Regions from separate parts of the Homo sapiens genome. Here regions 1, 2, 4 and 5 are each linked to region 3. The links are contacts of gene promoters, found by promoter capture Hi-C in blood cells and fetal thymus (Javierre and others, 2016). All regions are on one chromosome and are shown on one strand. The core of a region is centred on a gene start or on the middle of the fragment in contact, and the rest is flanking DNA. Distances in the headings are between cores, read along the strand shown. Region 1 overlaps SLCO5A1 (solute carrier organic anion transporter family member 5A1). Region 2 overlaps SULF1 (sulfatase 1). Region 3 holds the start of NCOA2 (nuclear receptor coactivator 2). Region 4 overlaps SLCO5A1 (solute carrier organic anion transporter family member 5A1). Region 5 overlaps SLCO5A1 (solute carrier organic anion transporter family member 5A1).

Region 1 (2,700 bases), core at 85-2,584, 670 kb after region 3:
ACACTCAGCTTCTCTTTATCAATCAACTAATTTAAGGAATGTTTGGGTGTCTACCATGTGGCAGGTTCTTAGCCAGTGCTCTAATGGCAGTTAAACAGGGTTCAATTGCTCTTTAACAATGTTTTTAAGACTCAGATGACCCAAAATGATAAGAAACACATTGGCATTTCTTGCAGGAAAGGATACTACATGGCATCAGCATTAAAGTAAAGATGATTAGGTTGGTGCAAAAGTAATTGCGGTTTTTGCTGTTGAAAGTAATGACAAAAACTGCAATTACTGGCTGGGTGTGGTAGCTCATGCCTGTAATCCCAGCACTTTGGGTAGCTGAGGCAGGTGGATCACTTGAGGTCAGAAGTTTGAGACTAGCCTGGCCAGCATGGCGAAACCCCGTCTCTACAAAAAATACAAAAATTAGCCAGGCGTGGTGACACGTGCCTATAATCCCAGCTACTTGGGAGGCTGAGAGGCATGAGAATCACTTGAACCTGGGAGGCAGAGGTTGTAGTGAGCCGAGATTGTGCTACTGCACTCCAGCCTGGGCAATAGAGCCAGACTTCATCTCAAAAAAAAAAAAAATTGCAATTACTTTTGCACCAACCTAATACTTTGCAGCCACAGGCCATCTCACATGCTTGAATATTTTTATATTCAAGCCATCTCACATGCTTGAATATTTTTAGTATTTTCTTGGCCCCATAGATTCCTGCTATGTAACCAGTTTCAACAGCCGAGCTCTCCAGGGGTCTTAGTGAGACTGGTTACAATAAACATGAAATGAGCATGTTTGGAAAAATGATTTAATCTAAGATTTTAGAGAAGGAAGAAATTACAGAGTTCATGCTCATTTTTGTCAATAAACAATGCTGACAAGCTGGTACAAACCATCCTCAACCACTTAGGACCCATAGTTATAAGGCAACACTGTTCATGAACATGTTTTGTGCCTTGACTAGGAGTCAGTGCCCTACAGATGCACGTTGATGATTTGGCAAGACAGCTCAGGCTAATTCCAGGCCTGTGTAGTTACTCCTCGCAGGGACTCCCAGGGCTTTCGCAGTACATAAGGTGGACAGTGTTTTTCTCTCCAGGTCTGTTTTCTAGTCTAGAAAACAATAACTTGAACTGAAATGAACTCTATAATTCTTCCTTCCCTAAAATCTTAGATTAAATAACTTTCCCAAAACCCTGTGTACCAAATACACATTTATTCTTACCTTCCCTATAGAGTTATATTGTTTTCTTAAAAGGGACTAGTTACTAACCAATTCATCACTCTGGTATTTGTAGTAATGTTGCATCCCCACAAACTCTGGCCATGTCCAGAATCAATATTATCTGTTTTGTTTTGCTGTGGGCAGCCTAATGTAGTACACAGACCTCTCTGAATCCCAGATCTGTGACTTAACTAGATGTAGGCTTTTAGCCAAGTTGCTTACCCACTCAGAGTCTCAGTTTCTCATTTGTAAAATGTGAGTGATCATTCCCCAGGGCTACTGTAAAATATTAAGTGAGCTAATTAGATCTTAAAGCATTTGGTATACAGTAGATAATCAAGAAAAATCAGTTTCTCCTCTTTTTCTTTTATGAAACTGTGCTAAATTTAAATTTCCTTTAGGAAATCTTGTTAGGTTTTCTGATTTTAAAACAAATTGTATTGGTCTACTTTACAGTGGTAATTGGAAGGCTTTTTGTTAAATCCCACCCGCGAAGAGAGGTAATACAGTCATATAAAATGGTAAGAGGTGACTATTTTCATCTTGATCATAGGAGTAAAGTAGTGGAAACTTTCTGGGGCGGGAGACAGTAAGGAGTCTTAGGGAGGGATGTCCATGCTTGCAGCATATTACGAATCTCTCTCTCACACACACACACGCTCTCTCTCTCTCTCTTTGAATTATTCCAAATCAGTTCGCCAAATGACCAGCTTCTTGTTTGGCCAGTTCCCCCAATGACCGTAATTTCTTATATGATTCTTTCTCTTTATTTACTAGTTTTCAGAGTAAAAATTTATATTCTAGCAAATTTATATAGTGGCCAATAATTTGTTAAAAGTATTATTAACTCATTTTTAGGTGTTTGATGTGCTTTACTCCATTGCAGTTATCTTTTTTTTTTTTTTTTTTTTTTTTTTGTTGGGACGGAGTCTCGCTCTTTCGCCCAGGCCGGACTGCAGTGGCACGATCTCGGCTCACTGCAAGTTCCGCCTCCCGGGTTGATGCCATTCTCCTGCCTCAGCCTCCCAAGTAGCTGGGACTACAGGCGCCCTCCACCTCGCCCGGCTAATGTTTTGTATTTTTAGTAGAGACGGGGTTTCATCATGTTAGCCAGGATGGTCTCCATCTCCTGACCTCGTGATCCGCCTGCCTCGGCCTCCCAAAGTGCTGGGATTACAGGCGTGAGCCACTGCACCGGGCGCAGTTATCATTCTTTTTGATGCTCCAGTTGCCCAATCTTTGGCCATTGGGAGCCCCTTAAAGTCAGTACCTGTGTCCTTTGGCTCTACCTCAGTAGTCTTTGTGGTTTCTGTCATGACAAAAGGTGACTCACTTACCTTCCACATTTCCTGCCCTGGACCTCGGATCAGTCGTATATCTGCAAGGAATCTTGGTTTCTTTGACAGGAAAATGGTACTTGGACACCATCATCTGGACACTCGGGTTGCCCATTGCTCATTGCTACAAGATCGTCATTGTTTCT
Region 2 (2,863 bases), core at 352-2,851, 740 kb after region 3:
AGCAAGGCACCAAGATGCGCCTTTGGACAACAATGCTATTATCTTAGACTATGTTCTCTTGAAAACTTGGTTTCCTCAATTATCCAAGGGTTGGATTGGTAGGTCCCCTGACCCTTTGCTTTCTTTTTTTCTTCTTCTTATTTATTTTTAACCTTCTGGTCTCTGGACATTTCACAGATTTTTAGCCCCTCAACCTGAAGGCTAAATTTCTTCAGGAGATTTGGAACAGACAGAAGGAAGCATATGGAATTTGTGTATCAAAAAACTTGAGATCTTGAAGGGTGTTTAGGTTTCCACCCAAGTTCCTGGTTCCTGAAGAACCGACACTGCCTTCAGTGGGTCTGTTCTCTTGGTTTTGAAAAATTCCATTTTACTGCCCAGAACCATTTTTGGTTCTGCCCAGACCTGATTTGCAGGGCCCCCGTGGAAAATGAAAATGTGGGGCCCCTTGTTAAAAAATTATTAAGGATTTCAAGGCGGTGACATCAGAGCATTAAACCAAGTGCTGGCCCTTTGTGACCATCTAGGTTGCCTGCCGGGAAAGCTACCTTGGCGCTGCCTCTGCTGCCTCCCTCAAGACAGCAATGAGGTAAATCCGTGGTGAAGTTGTTAATCTGAGAACGTTCTATAACACATTGACTTCAGCTCCATTTTATAAGTTTGGTTAGTATTCAATCATGTAAATAGAGATCATGACTCAATTTTACTTGCAAGAAATGGGTGTACCACAAAAACTTGGTTAAGTTCATTTCTCTGAAACAGAAAAAAGTTTAAACACCTTTTATTTGAAGAAATATTGCTTCTAGACTTTCCTGAAGCCAGAATTGTTCTATAAAAGTATCATGGAATATTATACATGATTAAAAAACAGAGTATGCTTCCTAATAACTTGAAATCTTTTTACAAAGCACATTATTCATGATCATAAATATGTTTGTTCTGTCATCCCACCGATGATACACACATCAGGCAAGCAGCTAATTTGAACATATGTACAGAGTCTATGATAAAGATTTAAAGTTACCAAAAAGATTCAGCTATAACATATTAAATTTTCTTTAAAAGAGTTTACCATAAACACTTAAAGAAAACATAATTTATCTAAGCACTTGAATTATCTAAAAATAAGAAGAAAACCTCTCTTAGGGTAAGCAAAAACACATCATCTTGGGGAGCTGAATAGGAGGGTACTGATGACTCAGTGAGGTAATCCTTTAGCTGGTATTTAAAAACCTAATACACAACAAGGATATTTTCAAGAATACAGATTTTCAAAAGCAATTTTGAACTATGTCTTTAAAAGATATCAGAACTTGGTGAAGGTCTTACAAATAATCATAGAACACAATGTTAAGAAATTAACTTCTCTTGTGGTATGTTGAAATTGTGGAGCATTCATGATTTTCTTTTATTGAGAAGTTCTTGGTGTAAATTCAAAACTAGTCATATTTTATCAACATTTAAGCTTCTTAGTCATGCCAAGAAAACCAAAAAAGATGAAAATAAAAGATCTTTAGATCTTTTTCTCCTGTCAAGAAAATAACCCAAAATATAGCAATCTTAAAGGTATGATGTATGATGAACGCTTTGAGGCTAGGCACAGAGAGAGCAGGCAATCTTCATTTTGTTTACTTATTTATTTATTTTCACCACCAACATTATTAGCCATGCCTTTCTGCTAATCGATTTTAGCAAGTCGAGGTAAAACACATGCAACATTTTCTGGCAAAAGCTTAATGTCAAACAATATGTGATCCATACTGTGTGTCGTCCTTGGGGGTTTATTTGACTTTGTCACAATGACAGCCAACAGTGAGACTGATAAGCCTGTAAAAATAAAAAAATAAGACTAATCAAATAGACATGGCATTTTAATCTCAAAGTGCAAAATCATCTAACTGAAAATGACGGCATTGAAAAATTCCAGTGGTTAAAAATGAATCAAAACTTCATTACGCAGGCAGTGGAAGTGTGTTGAAAGATTTACCAGGGGTGTCAAGTTTTAGACACTCAGAAAGGCACCATTCTAGCCATCTTGATTGGATAACATGTATATACTTATGTCCCTACGATATTCAAAAGATAATACTGTTTTAGTACAAAACAAACAAACAAGCAAAAAATCAAAACCAAGCCAACCCAAATATCCCCAGCCTTTCTTTCTACTCTTGGCAGATAGTAAATTATAACGATGAGTCTCCGTGTGCACACCGCTTGCTCACATGCTCACTAGCTTCTACTGCACAAAGGTACCCAGGGTAGCTTGGAATGTTGGTGGCTGTGATTACCTTTATTAGTTTACAAATAAAAAAGTTAAAAAGAAATACTGTGTTTAGGGTAAGGTAACAGTTTCATCTAATCAGAGGAGAGTGAAGAGGAGGCGCTGCCTTCTAGGTGCTGTGACTTCTCCTTTTCGTGATTCTTCTCCACCTTGGTCAACATCTTCCCCGCTATGCTGGAATTACTTCGGTGTTCTGCGGTGGCCATGGTGAACATCTGATGAACTGAAATTCCATCGGAATGCACAGGAAGATATAGTTGATCTTCAAAAATGTCCTTTCCAGGACCACCATACTGGGGAAGTTCTTTCGGGTGCCTGCGAATGGGCTGCAGCCTGGGGCTGGGCCCGAGCTCTAGCTCTGTCATGCCATCGCCACTGAAATCGGTTTCCAGATGATTAGTCTCTTCATGCCCCGTCCATTTTTCGGTTTTTCTCCAGTGTTCAGAATTCAAATGATTAACTTCTGGAATGTCGTTATTCCATTCAAGTTTACTCTCTGGACTTAATGTTGGTCGGTTCAAATGCAGGGTTTGAAGGTCAGCTGGCAAGGTCAAATGAGGTGTTTTCCCAACCTTATGCCTT
Region 3 (2,879 bases), core at 195-2,694:
TTTTTTATTCTTTTCCCAAATAAAATTGGCGGTACACCCACAAATTTTAGGATGAAGACATGTTTAAAAGCATGGGCTTTGGAGCTCACCAGAACTGGGCTCACATCCTCTCCAACTACTGGCTGTGACCCTGGGCAAATTACTTTAAGCTTCAATTTTTTGTGTGAAGTGAAAAGCGGCAATGACTTCGGAAGGTTTGAGGATTAAGGCCTATAGCATATATACATCACCTAGCACAGTCAGATTCACAGTAAGTGTTCAATAAACACTCTTATTGTCTACCGCAAGTGACCTTTCTCATTATAAGATTAAAATCAGGGAATATGTTCCTCTCATAGTTTGATAACTGCCATTAAACAAAAGTTTTTTTTTTCAACTAATTACCGTATAAGTTGGAAAAAAAACTTGCTTTTCCAAAGCGTAAAACAGATTGGTCTAAGTAACACTTAAATGGGGGTTCTCGCATTTTCAGTGCCAATCTCCTACGTCCCCTCAGTACTTTGTTCACGGATGTCTAGAGAATGGACTTTCCAATACAAACTTATGATTTCATGATGTGCCGAAAATTCTCAACCAGGTTAAGTTTCACACTCTGTGTGCAGCATTTGCTTTATCCCGCAATTGCCGGGTGGTGCCCCTTCCAGCTCCCACAGTCGCGCCTCTCCATCCCCTCTGGAGCTAGGACTGCAATGGGAGAAGCCTCTCCCTGTTGGAGCCGTAGGGGACTTGACGGATGCGGGGCGCCTCCGGGGAGCAGCGGCAGGACCGGGAGTTGGGTAGGGTGAGGTGCGCCCGAGGGGGTGCAGGGTGCTGGCCGAAGGGTCCGGCCGGACGGGCGCGAGGGTCCTCTGCTGGCGACCCTGGAACTCGGCTCTCCCCGATCTTCGTCCTGGGGCACCGTCCCTGCCGTCTGCAGCCCCCAGGCCCCACTGCCTCTAACTCAGCGGCCCAGGCCCGTCCCAGTCGCTAGTTTTCTTTTTGGCATTGCCCTTTGCCCTCCCATGCAGTCCTCTGTTGACTCTCTCTTCAGTTCCAGTCACCTCTAGGTCACCCTCCCTCTACCACAGTCACCCATTTTGTCCCCTGTCCCCTTACTCTTCTTCACCTCTCCCCGGGCCGCCTTCTCAGAGGACTCTGCCGACGGAGATGCTGCGGACCCCGCGGCCAGGGGCTGCTCCCCGGACAACCCTGCGTCCACCTTTGCCCCTTCCTCGGGGGCGCGAGAGGCAAGTTTCCGCCCCGTCCTTTTCCCGGTGACAGGACTTGGCGGCGGCCACTGCCGGGGAGGCAGAGGGAGGGACGGCCTGGCTCCCGAGCCCCCTCCCCTGCTCGCGAGCTCGCGCTGTCTGTCTCTCCGCAAGTGCGGAGACGCGGAGGAGGAGGAGGAGGAGGAGGAGGAGGAGGGAGTTGGGGGAGGATCTCCATTGAAATAAACAACCAGGCAGCAGTTATTAACACGGGAACATGGCGGCCGCAGCCTCGGCTACAGCTTCGGCGGCGAAGGTCAGCGCCGACGGCAGCCGGCACCTGACGGCGTGACCGACCCGAGCCGGTAACCGCGCCTTCCCCCGGGGCCGCGAGGGCGGGCGGGGGGCGGGCGGCAGGCGGGGGGCGCCGCGTCCCCACCCCCGGCCGCGACTGCCCTTCCTGCGCCGAGCTCCGACAGAGCCGTGCGCCTCCGAGAGGCTGTTTTTGTGTGCGGGGACCGCCGCCGGAGTGCGCGGAAAACGGGAGTTGCATCCCGGAGGCGCAGCGACGCTGGGGAGTTGGGGCTTGGGGGTGGGGAGGGCGGGAAGCGACGGGGAGACGCGGAGTCCCCGGGAGAGAAAGGAGGCGCTCCAGCGCCTTGCGAGAGCTCAGGAGACGAGTCCCGGAGCGCGAGGCGGGCGGAGGCTGCAGCCCGCGGCGCGGGCGAGAGGTGAGCGCCGAGGCGCGGCCGGGGGTGCGGGCGCGGCCCCCGCCCCGAGGAGCGAGTGCCCATTGCCCAGCCCGGTGCGGGGTCGGCGGAGACCGAGGCTCTAACCCCTCGGGGGCAGCGCGGCAGAGCCGAGAAGGTGAATCCTGGGAAGGTGCATTCTTTAATGGAAGCGCGGAGCGGCTGCAGCGGAGAGTGGGAGCCGGGCGAGGGGAGGCAGGACTCGGGAAGTGCTGGGGGTGTGTGAAGGTGAAGCGGGGTGTCGGGGCGGCCGGCGAGCTGCAGCGCGGGGCGGGGAAGGGGAGCCGCGGCCCGGCGGGTGGCCCGGGCCCGTGTCAGCCCCGGGGGTGGGGGGCGAGGGGCGCCGAGCACCGCGGGCGGACGGGAAGGAGCTGCGGCGGGCGGGGCGGGCGGCGCGCTGGGGCCGAGCAGGCCGGGCCGTGGTGGGGGCGGGGAGCCGGGGGCCGGGCCCCGGCGGCGCCGAGCCGGGCTCGCCCCTGACTGAACTTTCTGGGTGCGGGCGTGTATGCAGGAGGCGCGCTGGGGCCGGGGCCGGGGGCGGGAGGCGGACCGGGAGGTTCCGGGTTGGCTCGCCAGCGCCCCCTTTTCTCGCCCCCTTCTCTCCGCCCCTGAAGGGACAGGCCCTCGGGGCCCCAGGCGGGAAGCGGGAGGGGCCCTGTGGCCGCCTCGCGACGGTCACGCCCCGGGCACGGGGACCCGGCCCTCTCGGGCCCCTGGGGGGTGCTGGGGGAGGGGGCCGGGGTCGTCGCTGCCGGCTGCGCTCCCCGCCTCCTCCCCTCGGGGGAGTCCCAGAGGCGCCTCTTCCGAGACCGGGGGTGGGTCGGTCCCTGGTTAGATGGCCCCTCCCTCTTCCCCTCCCTCTAGTGGTTTCCGGGGCCTGCGGGACCGAGGGGCGGGAATCGGGGACTGGAGCCCCCTTCCGCTGGCCCGGAGCTGGACTGGG
Region 4 (2,782 bases), core at 209-2,708, 650 kb after region 3:
AGTAGCTGGGATTACAGGCACTTGCCACCATGCCTGGCTAATTTTTGTATTTTTAGTTGAGATGGGGTTTCACTATGTTGGGCAGGCTGGTCTTAAACTCCTGACCTCAGGTGATCCACCCATCTCGGTGCTGGGATTACACCTCAGGTGATCCACCCAAAGTGCTGGGATTACAGGCATGAGCCACCGTAACCAGCTGACATTTTTAAAATTAAAACTGTCTCTTTCAATTTATTTATTCAGCATGTTTTTTTGAGTACCTAATCTGTGTCAGGCACTGGGCTGGTGATTACATTCTGAATAACTGAGATTGCTGGAAGTCTGCCCCGAACAAACTTCTCAAAATAAAGCCCTTTACTGACTATCTTAAAATCTTCATTTGATGTAACTTTAAATATCTTTGAAAATAGCACACTAAATTATTAATGACTAATTGTAGGAATCATTCTCTCAACTGTGACCTTTAGCAGCTGATAACAGCACTTTAATAGAAACATTATTTTAAAAAATGAATTTTCACTTTGCAATGGATCTATAGTCTTACCTGATTGAATTCAGCGTTAATACTTATGATGCTGCTTGCATTCTGGTTACAGTTGATGGGAATGTGTTGAGCATTTATGAACTTGGAAGCTTGAATGGCAGAGTTTGGAGGTGAGGAATCATAGTTAGAACGTGGCTACCCTGTTAGGGAGTGCCAGGGACCTCTGATTGCTAAGGAAATGTTGAAAGGGAACTGAGAAATTGCCCCACGGGGCATCATGCAGTCAAGAAGCCCAGGGCTCTAATACTACAATTTCATTCTACTCCCTGTGTTTGCTTCCTAGTGCTCTGCAACGTGGCAATCTCAGGTGAATTTCACGACAGAATTCTGAGTCTAATAGCTCCTGTTCTACTTCTTTTAGGAAGCTTTCCGATACACATTAATTTCCCCTCTCTGAATTTTGGTAGCACTCATAATCTGTACCATATAACCTAATATTTAATTATATACATTTTGCATTTCTTAGAGGTTTCTTATATTTTTGGCTTGCTTATGAACAGGTTGTAGGTTCTTGAAGGCAAGGACTAAGTTTAAATGTCTTTGTTGGTAACCCTCATACTTGGTGAAGTATTGTGAAGGCCAGCTAAGTGGGAGGCAATACATTCTCTTTTTATTTTTTTTAAGTTTTGCTCTGTCACCCAGGCTGGAGTGTGGAGTGCAGTGGCCTGATCTCTGCTCACTGCAACATCCGCCTCCCAAGTTCAAGTGATTCTCCTGCCTCAGCCTCCCGAGTAGCTGGGATTACAGGTGCCCACCACCACACCTGGCTAATTTTTGTATTTCTAGTAGAGACAGGGTTTCACCATGTTGGCCAGGCTGGTCTCAAACTCCTGTTTCAGCCTCCCAACGTGCTGGGATTATAGGTGTGAGTCACCGCGCCCAGCTGGGTCAATACATTCTTAAGTGTTTGCAGAAAAATATTTGAATATTCTCAATAATTTAAAACATATTTCACATGGGATATTAATGCTTTTCTTATGACAAAAAAAAGTCTATATTGGTCCACATAACATGCTATTGTCTACATTATTTTTCTATTGAATTTATAATTTAGGGATTTATCATAAAATACACATTGTAGAAGGTTAGCAATGCTAGCAGAACTAACTCATTGGTGCTCAAAAATACTTGAATGAAATTCGAATCAGGTTGCTGATTATAATATTCAGTATAACACTGGTATAATTATTGAGTAGATTTCTCATTTATATCACAGAAAGAGAGAATTCCTTCATTTTCTTAGTTTGCTCAACTTCCTACTGCTTTACAGTTGATTACAAAAAGTTTTCTTCAAAATTTTTTCACCACAAACTTCTGCTTTACTAATTTGTTCTCACTCACAAAAGAAAAGACGTAAATGCTATTCACATTTTCCAATTTTTTAGGTGGAGTGGATTCCTCCTTTGTGCCATTGCAATGTTTCTTGTGATATTCCCAATGTTTACTTTCCCAAAAAAGCTTCCACCTCGACACAAGAAAAAGAAAAAGAAAAAATTTTCTGTTGATGCTGTTAGTGATGACGATGTTCTGAAGGAGAAATCAAACAACAGTGAACAAGCGGACAAAAAAGTTTCTTCGATGGGATTTGGAAAGGATGTCAGAGGTAAAGTATACCTCTTGAATAAATACATGCATGGCACTTTGATCAGTGCTACTCATAGTGTGGTCCCAGGCCCATGCTGTCTACCCACTGTCTGTGGCCAGATAAGTACTAAGATTGAGAGTAAGTGTTGCAAAACTCTTAGAAACTTGACAGAGTAATTTTTTTGCCTGTTGCATCTAAGAATAATTTAAAAATTAAGGTTATATTTTGTATGTTATTTAAAAATTAATTTTTAAATAATTCATCATTTGTGTATTTTGCAAAAGTATTAGTAGATGACAGACTAGAAATAATAATTTAAAAAAATGGTTTTTCCTCACACACAGTTTGAGAAGCACTGATTTAGATCATAAAGAAACAGATGTCTATATATGTTATTTACTATAATTAGAGATGTCTGATTTTTAAAATATTAAAAATCAAGTGCATTGTGCCATGGAGGGTTTATTTCAGGGGAATAGTGGCTTTGGCAGTGTGGTTTGATGCCTACATAAGTATAATACCTACCACTAGAAAGGGATCTCACTTAGCAGCTCTGTCAAATGCTTGCATGTGGCCCCAGAGAAGGGTGGCCAGGGGATGGACCTCCAAATGCAGTGTAAAAGCATCCAGAAGGTCTTGGTGATATATGGTTT
Region 5 (2,787 bases), core at 241-2,740, 730 kb after region 3:
TGGGGTGGGTTCTGTACTTATAATTTCCAGAGCACATAATCCAGGACAAGGGGCTTATGTGGTAAATCAGAGAGCAAAGCAAAATTAGCATGTGCAGGAGGGCGCTCAGATATTTGCCTGGTGAACTTAGGAGGGATTTTTCCCTGTTGGGAAGGGAAAGAAAGGTTGTAACATTTCATACTTTGGAAAGTTCTTTATTCAGTTGGGTTATATTCTTACTGTATAATGAAACGTCTTTTGATGTTTTTGATTCCTGAAGTCTCTGCCCTACGAGGTTCAACTTCAGGAGTTGAAAGTCATCACTCTGTCAGCTGTGAGAAGCTGGACCCCAGAGGAGGGCAGGAAGTAATTTGAGAAAGTTGCTAAATCGTGCATACAGCAAAGGCTATTATCTTCAACCTTATAGATAGTTACTGCCTTCAGGATCAGTGGTGATTTATGCTGGGCCTGCAATTTGAAATGCTGAGTTCATTAATTTTACTATCATATAAAATTTCAGAGTTGAGTCAAGAAAAGGGCATATTGGGGAATGTGATTTCTCCCTTTTTTTTTTTTTCAGTTTTTCAGGCTGTGCTTTCTTTGCCATATCTTGTTTGGATTTTTTGTTTATAAGAGGACATGGAAGCTACTTTTGTCCTATTAAAAATGTTGGCACTGGTGTTCCTGGACCAAAATGATGGTCGGGCTGCTATTTTTTTGCACTGCAATAACGTGATACAGATGAACAGGGGAGGAAGAGGGTTTTTATTTCTGTAACCAGTTACAGGGAGAAGGCCTGGAAATAAACACCAGACCAACTCAAAATTACAAAGTTTATTAGAGCTTATATACATTCTAAGCTATCTGTCTACGTGTAAGTGTGCATTCATCTAAAGACATAAGTGATTAATTTCTTTTAATTTATAACTAAGATCTGAATCTTGAAGACCTTCTTCTGGAGCCTCAGTAAGTTTACTTAATCTAAATGGGTCCAGGTGCTGGGGTGATTACCCTTATCTTGTCTCCTGCTAAATCACGGAGGTTTGGGGAGTTCCTTCAGACCCCCAATAAACCTGTTTATGGAGGCCTAGGGAGTTTTTTCAGACCCCCAATAAAACTTGTTTAATCCTAAATGGATCCTGTTAAGAATTTGTTCATTATTTTGTCGTGCTTTAAGGCCCAGGAAAGACTTAGGCAAAATTCTTGGTGGACTTTTGTTACATTCCAGCATTTGTATAAGGGCACTGGCTTTTAATATTTAACTTAAACACTCAGTCTGTACTGAAACAGTTGTTATGGAGGCCTGCCACGCTGATACATTCACATCGGTGTGTTGATATTTACAGTAAGGACTGCAGTGGACAAAGGAACTGGGCAGCGTGGTGAAGCCAGAAGAGCTCACCCATGGGTCTGGGCAGCTTCTGCCCAGATTAGGGGGTGCAGTGCAGGGAAGGGGATTAGGGGGGATTAGGGGGTGCAGTGCAGGGAAGGAATGAAGAAAGGGAGTCAGTTCTTACTCTTTCTCCAGGCTCCTCAGATGCCACAATGCTGGGCACCTTGCAGGAAGCACCTGCTGAGATGTCATTGCTTAGCAAGGGCAGTTGGCTGCACCAGATGTATTCTGGCTTCCTTCCCACTTGGTGCTGAATCAGGCATTTCCCAGCAAAGCTGTTCCTTGACAGCCAGATAGTAGTGCATGAAAGGCCCACTGGTTTGTTTACTCAGTTCTTCCAGCAGCAGATATTTATGGAATAACAACCTGTGTGCAGCACTTTGCAAATTGCTCTGAGAAATAAAGAAATTGGGGAAAAGGTGACAAGGGCACTGGTCTTGGGAAAGTTCCTATTATATACCATACTCTCATGGGTATGTGATGGAGAGGTTAAGGTACTGCAGCATTAAAAAGACATGAATCATTCATAAATTTACTCAAATAATCTTATTCTTTGCACTTTAATTCCTCAAGAGATGTTAAATAACCCATTGGCTACTTTTTCTTTTGGTGTTCATAAATGGCAAATCGCCAGTTGGCTTCTAACCTAAAATTTCAGAAAAGGAGCCCTTTAATCTTTGCTAATTACAGAACCAGTTGACTCCAATCTTCCTGTCACATGGGAATAACTTGGAGTATAAGTTTTTAAAAAAGAAAAAAAGATGTGGTTGGAGGGCTTATGCTTCCTCTGATCTTTGACTTGTTTCCTATACATTTTTTGAATATACTTTTATTCTTTACTCTTCTTTCTTCCTGTTTTGGAAGAATTATTGGAGTAATTTTCAATGTATGCATCTACCACTCTGGAAGATGCAGGCACACAGGCAAAAAAACAAAAACAAAAACAAAAACAAAAAAACCGTGCAGTATTTAAGATGAAATTCTATAATTAAAAAAAAATGGATCTGATTTTGGAAGCTCAGTTAGAGGCATTCCAGCTTCTTCAGCCAAAAGCCTTTAACCCTCTACCAGTATTTTTGTAGAAACAATTAGAGATAGTCAGAGTTTCTTTGATGTCTACATTGGGAAAACCTTTATTCAGGGATTTAGCCACCAGCAATCTTGTGTGGCTATTGTTAGTAAATAATAGTGAATTAAATATTTTGGCATGGCATCTTTAGTCCCTGGCTCTGCACAAAGCCGACTTGATTTGACATTCATTTTCTTGGGGCTACTATTTAAAATGCATTTCCTTCTTTCCCTTCACTGTAGGTCCGTAGAAGATGAGGAGAGACCTTTTGCACTGGGAATGCAGTTTGTTTTGTTGCGAACACTTGGTACGTCCCTGAATTTCCAAGTGTACCTCTTAGTTCCTC

Evidence for each region. The method cuts DNA at HindIII sites, captures the fragments that hold promoters and counts their contacts. A CHiCAGO score of 5 or more calls a contact.
Region 1: a contact is called between a fragment that was not itself captured here and the fragment with the promoter of NCOA2 in region 3, in 1 of 17 cell types (neutrophils). The highest score is 5.8, in neutrophils.
Region 2: a fragment that was not itself captured here is called in contact with the fragment with the promoter of NCOA2 in region 3 in 1 of 17 cell types (naive B cells); the score reaches 5.8 in naive B cells.
Region 4: a contact is called between a fragment that was not itself captured here and the fragment with the promoter of NCOA2 in region 3, in 2 of 17 cell types (neutrophils and total B cells). The highest score is 6.1, in neutrophils.
Region 5: a fragment that was not itself captured here is called in contact with the fragment with the promoter of NCOA2 in region 3 in 3 of 17 cell types (neutrophils, M0 macrophages and M1 macrophages); the score reaches 9.1 in neutrophils.

The regions. Positions count from the first base shown.
Region 1 is chr8:69,728,881-69,731,580 of GRCh38, reverse strand. The region is part of intron 5 of SLCO5A1 (solute carrier organic anion transporter family member 5A1); the gene reads left to right. Among named protein-coding and RNA genes, the nearest start is that of SLCO5A1-AS1, 100 kb to the left of the region's middle. The HindIII fragment of the contact is 6,128 bases long and covers 1-2,700 here.
Region 2 is chr8:69,658,815-69,661,677 of GRCh38, reverse strand. SULF1 (sulfatase 1) reads right to left here. Exons shown (of 23, transcript NM_001128205.2): 23 at 766-2,863. Among named protein-coding and RNA genes, the nearest start is that of SULF1, 170 kb to the right of the region's middle. The HindIII fragment of the contact is 267 bases long and covers 1,468-1,734 here.
Region 3 is chr8:70,402,373-70,405,251 of GRCh38, reverse strand. It overlaps NCOA2 (nuclear receptor coactivator 2), which reads left to right and starts at 1,444. Exons shown (of 23, transcript NM_006540.4): 1 at 1,444-1,552. RefSeq lists silencers at 668-827, 1,518-1,827, 1,868-2,157, 2,188-2,847 and an enhancer at 928-1,047. The HindIII fragment of the contact is 4,231 bases long and covers 152-2,879 here.
Region 4 is chr8:69,754,789-69,757,570 of GRCh38, reverse strand. SLCO5A1 (solute carrier organic anion transporter family member 5A1) reads left to right here. Exons shown (of 10, transcript NM_030958.3): 4 at 1,930-2,147. Among named protein-coding and RNA genes, the nearest start is that of SLCO5A1-AS1, 78 kb to the left of the region's middle. The HindIII fragment of the contact is 1,093 bases long and covers 912-2,004 here.
Region 5 is chr8:69,676,570-69,679,356 of GRCh38, reverse strand. It overlaps SLCO5A1 (solute carrier organic anion transporter family member 5A1), which reads left to right. Exons shown (of 10, transcript NM_030958.3): 9 at 2,684-2,748. Among named protein-coding and RNA genes, the nearest start is that of SLCO5A1-AS1, 160 kb to the left of the region's middle. The HindIII fragment of the contact is 3,970 bases long and covers 1-2,787 here.